3 separate regions of the Homo sapiens genome follow, and regions 1 and 2 are each linked to region 3. The links are contacts of gene promoters, found by promoter capture Hi-C in blood cells and fetal thymus (Javierre and others, 2016). All regions are on one chromosome and are shown on one strand. Each heading gives the region's core, a stretch centred on a gene start or on the middle of the fragment in contact. The rest is flanking DNA. Distances are from core to core; before and after follow the strand shown.

Evidence for each region. The method cuts DNA at HindIII sites, captures the fragments that hold promoters and counts their contacts. A CHiCAGO score of 5 or more calls a contact.
Region 1: a fragment that was not itself captured here is called in contact with the fragment with the promoter of CARMN in region 3 in 3 of 17 cell types (endothelial precursors, M0 macrophages and M1 macrophages); the score reaches 6.1 in endothelial precursors.
Region 2: a contact is called between a fragment that was not itself captured here and the fragment with the promoter of CARMN in region 3, in 5 of 17 cell types (M1 macrophages, megakaryocytes, M2 macrophages and 2 more). The highest score is 7.8, in M1 macrophages.

What each region holds. Positions count from the first base shown.
Region 1 is chr5:149,621,434-149,624,133 of GRCh38, reverse strand. ARHGEF37 (Rho guanine nucleotide exchange factor 37) reads right to left here. Exons shown (of 13, transcript NM_001001669.3): 9 at 2,072-2,401; 10 at 1-122. Among named protein-coding and RNA genes, the nearest start is that of ARHGEF37, 41 kb to the right of the region's middle. The HindIII fragment of the contact is 1,021 bases long and covers 790-1,810 here.
Region 2 is chr5:149,596,205-149,598,904 of GRCh38, reverse strand. It overlaps ARHGEF37 (Rho guanine nucleotide exchange factor 37), which reads right to left. Exons shown (of 13, transcript NM_001001669.3): 2 at 950-1,146. The coding sequence starts at 1,135. Among named protein-coding and RNA genes, the nearest start is that of ARHGEF37, 16 kb to the right of the region's middle. The HindIII fragment of the contact is 1,095 bases long and covers 863-1,957 here.
Region 3 is chr5:149,405,553-149,408,291 of GRCh38, reverse strand. CARMN (cardiac mesoderm enhancer-associated non-coding RNA) reads right to left here and starts at 1,447. Exons shown (of 5, transcript NR_105060.1): 1 at 1,214-1,447. RefSeq lists an enhancer at 1-958. The HindIII fragment of the contact is 6,163 bases long and covers 912-2,739 here.

The sequences.
Region 1 (2,700 bases), core at 51-2,550, 220 kb before region 3:
GTGGGAGGTGGCTGCACTTTCTCAAAGGTCTCTTGAAAGGAGCGAAGCTGGTTACTCGTCCGGCCCAGTGCGTCCTCCACCAGCTTCCTGAAGGCAGGCTCTGGGACGTGGTGGTGGGGCAGCTAAGTGGGGACAGACACTGTCAACAGAGCTGGGCAAGAGGGGACAATGAGATCCCTGGCTTGCTTTGGGTTTATATTATTTTCAACCCAAGGAGTTCTGAGTGATACTCTGTCCTGAGACCTTGACCCTGTGCAGGATCTCTTGCATTTTCGTCAGACAACCTAGGAGTGAGTGAGATGCCACAGCTTGTCACCAGATTCACAGCTTGTCACCAAACTCATTGTTCTTAGTGCTGACCTAGAGCCTTCCTCCCACCAGGATTCAGGGAGATTGAGGTTTCTGCCTGCAGCCTTTTCCAGGCTCCACAGGGACAGGCCACATGCATGGACCACAGGACACAGATAAGGCAGGCTGGCAGCTGTCACCAGCAGACTCTGATGGACCAATCAGGAAGCGCCCTTACTTTCTGCTTTTATAAACGTGACCACCTCTCTACTGGCATCCCCAAACACTCCCTAGCTCTGCACATCCCAGATTTAATGCAAGGGGTTGGGGGCAGCCCAAGAGAGAAAACCTCTAGGCTACAGGAGAGGGAAAAGATAACCTCATCAGATTTACTCTTCTGCCCTCAAGGAAGAGACAGTTCTTTTACTGATGGTTCAGGCCTAATTCAATTTGCAGAGTGTCTGGGACAGAACTCTGTGAGGGCCAAAAAGAGAAAAAGCTTGCAGTCCCAGTCCCCATGCTTGAGGAGAAACACATTCATGGATTCCTGCAGCAGAAGGCAGGCTCTGAAAAGTACTAAGCACAGTTCCATCCACAGGGCTGCTGGAGTACAGAGGATAGGGAGATGACTTCTCCCCCTCAGGAGATGGGGAGCTCTGAGAGCTTCATGGAGAGACTCATTCATCTGCCACTTGTTTGGGGAGCTCCTACTCTATGCCAGACACTGAAAGTGCTCAGGGACAATGGAGAGGGGCATTCTAAGCTGAGGCAGGTGTCTGTGCAGAGTGGCCACATCCAGCAGCTGTGTGCTGGAGGGGAGGGCTGTGGGCTAGAAAGGTGATGGGGTGGGGAAGGCAAATCTTAGTAGAGTTTTCATGCAAAGAATTGGATGGGGAAAAGCTGAGCTGGAGACTGTGACACACAGGAAACAGTGTGTGATATTAGGAGTATTGAAATTGCTCCCAAGGTGGGACCCAACAGCAATTCAGCTCTCATGTTGACATCTGAGAGCAAGATCTGGAAGCAGTTGGGTGTTCTTTCTTGTATCAACTCCAGTCTTCCAAATTCTAAAATCAAAGTTTGCATTTGGAGGTTTATCCAAACCTCTGTGGAACCTATTTATGCTTTCAGCCGGTAGCTCCTTTTACAGGCTCTTGAGTGTTGTGGTTCAGAGTCCAGGCCCTGGAGCTGAACTGTCAGAGTTCAATGCTTGCTATTAGCCGTGTGGCCCTAGACAAGCTACTTTACCTCTCCGTGCCTTGGCTTCTTTATTTTTAAAATGAGTATAATTATACCTCCTCTGTAGGGTTGTTGTGAGGATTGAATGAGATCATGCATGGAGAGTGCTCCAAACAGGTACATCCTAAATACTCATGAGAAGATGGCTGCTGGAAGTAGTAATAGTAACACCGGCTTGAGACATTTACTCCTTACTGTGTAGAAACGACCTTCTGTCTCTGTCATCAACTTCTAGTACACTCCAGAGATCAGTCCCAAGATCTGCCATTGTATGAGCAAAGCTTCTTCTGCTTCTGAGTTGCAGGACTTGGGAATGGTCTGAAATCTCAGTCCTATCCTTGCTTTCATGGTCTGACTTCACTAACAGAGGGAGACTGGGCATGAGAGAGATCTGGAAGGTTCCCACTGCCTCTTCCTAAGGGCCTGATGACCTGTTTTCAGGCCCATCCTCCCTCCATCCTAGCCCCTACACACAGCTGGCTGATGGGGCTGCAGGGCCTTGCCTGGCTACTCCCCACAGGTGTCCAAGTCTCAGAGGCCTTACCTGGGCCATGCTTCCCTCTGCCCTCTGCAGCACTTGCTTTGCAAGGTCCCTCTGGAGGGTCACGAATGTGCACATGATCTGGCCCAGCCACTGCATGACCAGCTGGTTAAACTGTGGGAGCTCAGCCACTAGCAGCGAGTTGAGTGCCTGGTATGTGTGCCGGGCGGCCTCCTCCTGGTAGGTCACACTGCCCACCTCCAGCAGCTTCTCTTCCACCCGCTCAAAGTCCAGTAGCTTGTCCAGACGCTTCTTGATCAGGTTCTGAGGGCCAAGCAGGGCTTTGGCCAGGCTGCACAGTGGCTGCCACACCAGGCCTTCTAGCCGTTGCTTCTGTGGGGAGACATGAGCGTGGGAGTCGGGAAAGGAGGTGGCAAAGGGCAGGGGCTGTGAGAAGGGGCTTTGGAAGCATGCAGGCCTGGATTCCAGTCTAACTCCCACTGACTAGCTGGGACCTTTAGCATGTTATCTAACTTCTCTGGGCCTCAATCTGCCCATCTGAAAAATGGGGACGATGCATGTAATGAGCTTAACAGAGTGCTTAGCACAGAGTAGGCATTCAATCTTATATAGCACTTTGAATCATTATTATGCAAAGACCTTGAAAAAGTTTTTTGTTTTTTTTTTTGAGA
Region 2 (2,700 bases), core at 161-2,660, 190 kb before region 3:
TGGATCCTTTGCCTCTTCTTGATTGAGGGATCTCTCTATATATGAATGTGTGTATATAAATATAAATATACATATATATATACACACACACACACATATATATATCTATATATCTATATCTATATATCTATATCTATATCTATATCTATATATAGATATATATATATGAGATTTATTTTTTCTGGAATTCTGTTAGAAAAGTAAAGAAAAAGCAAATGCTATTGATTTATCTCAGGGTACCCAAAGAGGTTGTAGTCAATTTTTGGTACTAGGAAAGGCAGCAAATGCATTTCCTGACTTTTAAGCATTTCCTTGTTGGAAGCCATAGAGGGCCAGGCCAAGTCGCTGACAGTGACTTTGTGATCGAATAAAGAGACCCTTGAAGGGGAAGCAGGAAAAAAAGAAGAAGAGGAGGAAGAAGAAGAAGAGGAAAAAGAAAGAAGAGGAAGAAGAAAGAAGAGGAAGGAGAAGAAGGAGAAGGAGAAGAAGGAGAAGAGGAAGAGGAAGGAGAGGAAGAGGAAGAAGAGGAAGAGGAAGAAGAGGAAGAGGAAGAAGAAGAGGAAGAGGAAGAGGAAGAAAGAAGAAGAAGAAGAAGAAGAAGAAGAAGAAGAAGAAGAAGAAGAAGAAGAAGAAGAAGAAGAGTCAGTTTAAGCAATCTGTTCCAAACTTGAAAAGGGCTTGTTCATTAGCTCACATAGGTCTCCCAGTGATTATTCCGCTCACCAGTTAGCCAAGGAATACACTAAGACTCTAAGCCATGGAAGACCTTGATGGAGGTTGCACGGCCAAGGAAAAGAAGTACTGGGGCTTACATCCAGGTCTGTCAGACTTCACATCTACCACGCTTCCTTTCTGTCAAGCTTGCCCCAGGAATGGATGAGAAATCTCAGAAGCTGGGACCCACATTTGCCCCTATAAAGACAGGTTGTGTGTGACCCCACCCAAGTACCTGCTGGAGGCGGCTCCTGATGTCAGAGGCACAGAGCTGGAGCATGTGCAAGTAGGAGACCTCAGTGTCGATGAGCTCCCGGACAGCCAGCCTCTGATGAAGCAGCGATCTGTCCTCAGAGGCCCTACCTTCCCTGTCCGGACTCCCTGACCTGGAGGATGGCTCGTCGGCTCCATGCTTGGCCATGTCAGCAGGTTCTGGGAAAAGCAAAAGCATCCCCACTCACTTCCAGGAAGAACTATTGGGACATGCTGTCTCTAATTCAATGACAATTACTCATCAAGAGGCCTAAAAACATCTTAAGCTGCAAACAGAGTCAAGATGAACTGTTTATTAGCATTTGTAGGCAGTACCTGAACAATATTGAAAGGCAGGTAACAGCTCTGATAACTCTTGACATTTTAGGTGGTGGCTCATGCCTGTAATCCCAGCACTTTGGGAGGCCAAGGTGGGCAGATCACCTGATGTCAGGAGTTCGAGACCAGCCTGGCCAACATGATGAAACCCCGTCTCTACTAAAAATACAAAAATTAGCCAGGCATGGTGGCGGGCTCCTGTAGTCCCAGCTACTCAGATACGCTGAGGCAGAAGAATCACTTGAACCCGGGAGGCAGAGGTTGCAGTGAGCCAAGATCACACCACTGCACTCCAGCCTGGGCAACAGAGCAAGATTCTTACAAAAAAAATTTTTTTTTAATAGATAATTCTTGACATTTTGAATTCATTTCCCAGGACCCAGACAACATGCTTGCCTGGCTTTTCTTCTATTTCCAATCCAGCTCTTGACCTAGATTTCTTTATCTGGTACAGCTGAATCTCTTTCACCCTCTCCCAGTGGTCCCCCTACACCCCATCCCACCAGCTACCCCATTTAGGCCTTACTACCCATCGCCTGGGCTATTTCCACAGCCCTCAGAGTCATCCTTCCTAATCCACACTGCTCTCCTGCCACCACCACACCCATTCTTTCTGGACACATTTCCAGTTTAAACTCCCTGAAACAAAGCTTGTGAACATGGTGTGCCCTGCTGTAAGACTTTAGTAGCTTCCTGCTGCTCAGTGATCTGATTCCAACCTCATTTCCCCTTCACAGACTGCACTCCAGGCTCTAACTTCATTTCCTCTTCACAGGTTGTACTGCAGTGGAAAGAGAGTTGAGCGCTCTTCTCCATACTTGCATTGGCATTTCCTGCTTTTGCACTTGCCATGCCCCCTCCTGTGTTCCTATCCCCCAGCATTCACTTCTCTAAGGCTACTCTTGATCCTCCCCTCATTTCTCACTCCCACCAGCTGCACTTTTCTTCTCTGAAACTCCTGCAATCCTTTATCTCTAACTTATAAAGTATCAAGGGCCCGGGTGCGGTGGCTCACGCCTGTAATCCCAGCACTTTGGGAGGCTGAGGTGGGCAAACCACCTGAGGTCAGGAGTTCGAGACCAGCCTGGCCAACATGGTAAAACCGCATTTCTACTCAAAATACAAAAATTAGCCGGGTGTGGTGGTGCACACCTGTAATCCCAGCTACTCGGGAGGCTGAGGTAAGAGAATCACTTGAACCCAGGAGGTGGAGGTTGCAGTGAGCCGAGATTGTGCCACTGCCCTCCAGCCTGGGTGACAGAGCAAGACTCCATCTCAAAATAATAATAAAGCGTAAAGGGCAATACCATGGACAAGATGATCTGAAAAACTTTCCTACTACAAAACACTTAGGAATGCTAGATCAGTTATAATAAACTTTTTAACTGCATGACA
Region 3 (2,739 bases), core at 198-2,697:
AGAGGACTGTTCTGTTCTGGGCTCCGGATGTGGCCAGAGTGTTTTCAGAGGAGCCCGACTCCATGCTGTCTGTACATCTTCAAGTTCCAATCCTAAGCCCCTGCCTCTACCCAGCCCTGCCTCCCATCACAAGCCTCCTGCATTCCTCTAAGTCCCCTGGCCCCACTGCTTCATCCCGCGAAGCCCTCTGCCATCTTTTCCATCCCTTACCTACTTCCATGTCCCACATTCCTGTGTGGTTGAATCCAGAGATCAGTCCTTTCCCCACCAGAGGCTGGTTGCAGCCAAGTTCATCTGGAGGGCTCGGGGCACCCCTCTGGCCAAGCCTTCAGTCACAGAACCTTCAGCTACTCTCCCTCACTCAGGCTCAACCTCCAAAAGCTCCCACAGGACTTCATCTGCTTGGACTCCAAGCTTGTGGTCAAAGTTCAGACTCGGCTCAGGGACCTCCTGGGGGAACTTCCCAACACTGGCTGTCCCTCAGGCACAAACAACTCAGAAGCCACATCTGCAGAGGGACCATTTTGTCCAATGGCCTTGCTATACAGATGGGAAAACTATGGCCCAGAGAAGGGAGGGGGCCAGCCCAAGACCACAGAGCCGGGCACTGAGAGCAGAGCTGGGGCCGGAGCTTAAGTGCCCCCGTCTCCTCTCACCAGCATCCCTTCCCATTGCTCCATGTGCAGTCAGCACCCAGCCTTCCCAGGATCTCTGCCTGCCTGCCAGAGCCTGAGCTTACATTGCCTCTTCCCCAGCTTTGTTTCTCGAAACCATTATTTGAAAACCATTTTCCTTGCCAGGAGCCCCAGGCTCTTGGAATTACAAAATCAAAGCCCCACACAATGAGGAAGAAGCACTGCCTATGTAGAAGCCAGGGAGACTGCCTGAGACTCGGGTGCCGAGGTGAAGCTTGGGCTGATAGGATGTTAACTCTGTGCACTCCCTCTGCACCTTCTTCCCCCAATTGACTACAACAACAAGGAATCCTAGAAGCCAACAGGACCATAGAACTAGAGCCGATCAGCTGGATGGATGCTTAGAGATCATTGACTCCAGCCCCTGTACAGATGGGGAAACTGAGACCCAGAGAATCTGTGTCCAGAAAGGGACAGAGCCAGTTAGCAAGACAGCAAGACCCCCAGATGCAGCATCCCCCTAGGGAAATTCCCAGAGGCCCCCACCCACGGATCCCAGGTCTGCCGTTGGTGCTTACCTTTCCTGGGGTCTGGTCCAGGTGTGGCTCCTTGGGGCCTGGAGACGGGAGCCAGCCTGTTTGGGGAGTGGTTGGGGGTGTCACTGCTTCTCAACTAATTAGACCCAGCCTCTGGTGCCCCTCGCTGCCACAGGGGCATTTTTAAGCAGCTGGCACTGAGCCCCCCTCCCCTTAGTCCCTTGCCTGCGGCTCCCTGGCCACAGAGGCCACTCTGCCTTTTACCTTATATGAGCTGAAGAGGCAAGCCCCGTATTGGGGCGAGGCGGGTGCTGAGCCCTCCCAGGGCCCCCCATTGGCCCAGGCACCCCCCACGTGACTACCTTGCCTTGACCTGCCCCCGGTGCTGAATGTTGCTTTTACCCCCTAAGGAAGGAGTGGTTGACAATTTTCATATTTCTTCTAAATTTGGAGATTTCAGACAATGCTGGGAGCCTTGGCTCCAGCCACCAGAGGCCCATGTGGAAGTCATTAAGCCTGAGAAGGGGGGCAGGGGAGAGAGGGAGGCAGGGAGAGGAGGAGGAGGAGGAGGAGGAGGAGGAGGAGGAGGAGGAGGAAGGGGGTGGGGAACAGAGTTCTGAGGGTTGCCAGTTGTCAGCCTGGGAACAAGAGCAAACTCCCTGGGAGAAAGCTGTGTGAGAATTTCCTTCCTCCCCCAGCCCCTGTGTCCCAGGACTGCAGTGGGAGTTCTGAGACTTTCTGGGAACCTCCAGTAGGGGAGACACCAGTCCTGGCTCCTGGAATCTGGGTGATGGGAATTGGGGGAACAGGAGAACATGGGGAAGGAGAGCCCAGACCGTGGGAAGCTACTCCCATCATCATGCAAACGAGGCCTGGGCCTGACAGGGAAGATCCTGACCCAGCCACCTGGCAGGGTCACCACAGGGCAGGGGTTTGAATGTGGAATGTCCTTCAGGGGGCTCTCTTTTCCCTGCCACCGCAGTCCTGAGAAATGCCCATCTCTTGCCGGAGTCCCTCTTTCTCCTTTTGCTTGGCCACCTTGGCCTCCTACAGATTCTTTAGTGTTTTTCATGCCTCAGGGCTTTTGCACTTGCATTGCTCGCTGCCAAAAATGCCTTCTTCCCAGAGCTCATGCTGCTCCTTCCCCTGCTCCTGTCTCCCACTCAGAAGTCTCCTCTGGAAGAGCCATTCCCTGGCCCCCTCAGTATTCTGTCACACCCTCTGCTTGCTTCCCGCTTCGGACTCGCCACGCATGTGCCTATCTTACATGTCCACGGTTCTAGTTTCTTGCTGGCTAGCTCTTTCATGAGAGTGTGACTTCCCCTGGCAGGCTCTGTGTCCCCAGGCTTCCTAGAGTGTCTGTGAAGAAAGGTCAGAAAACACAAATCAAGGGATCACGTGAACCAGGCCTCGGCTGCCAGCCTAGGAGTGTCGTGCTGAGGCCCATGGAGGTCTTCTCCCAGGGGCCAGCGGGGCCTGCTCCCAGGGCTGCCACCGGGTCCTGCCTTCCACTGCGCAGAGCTTCCCTTCTGCAGCCAGGCCTGCTGGACCCCAGCGGTCTCTGTTCA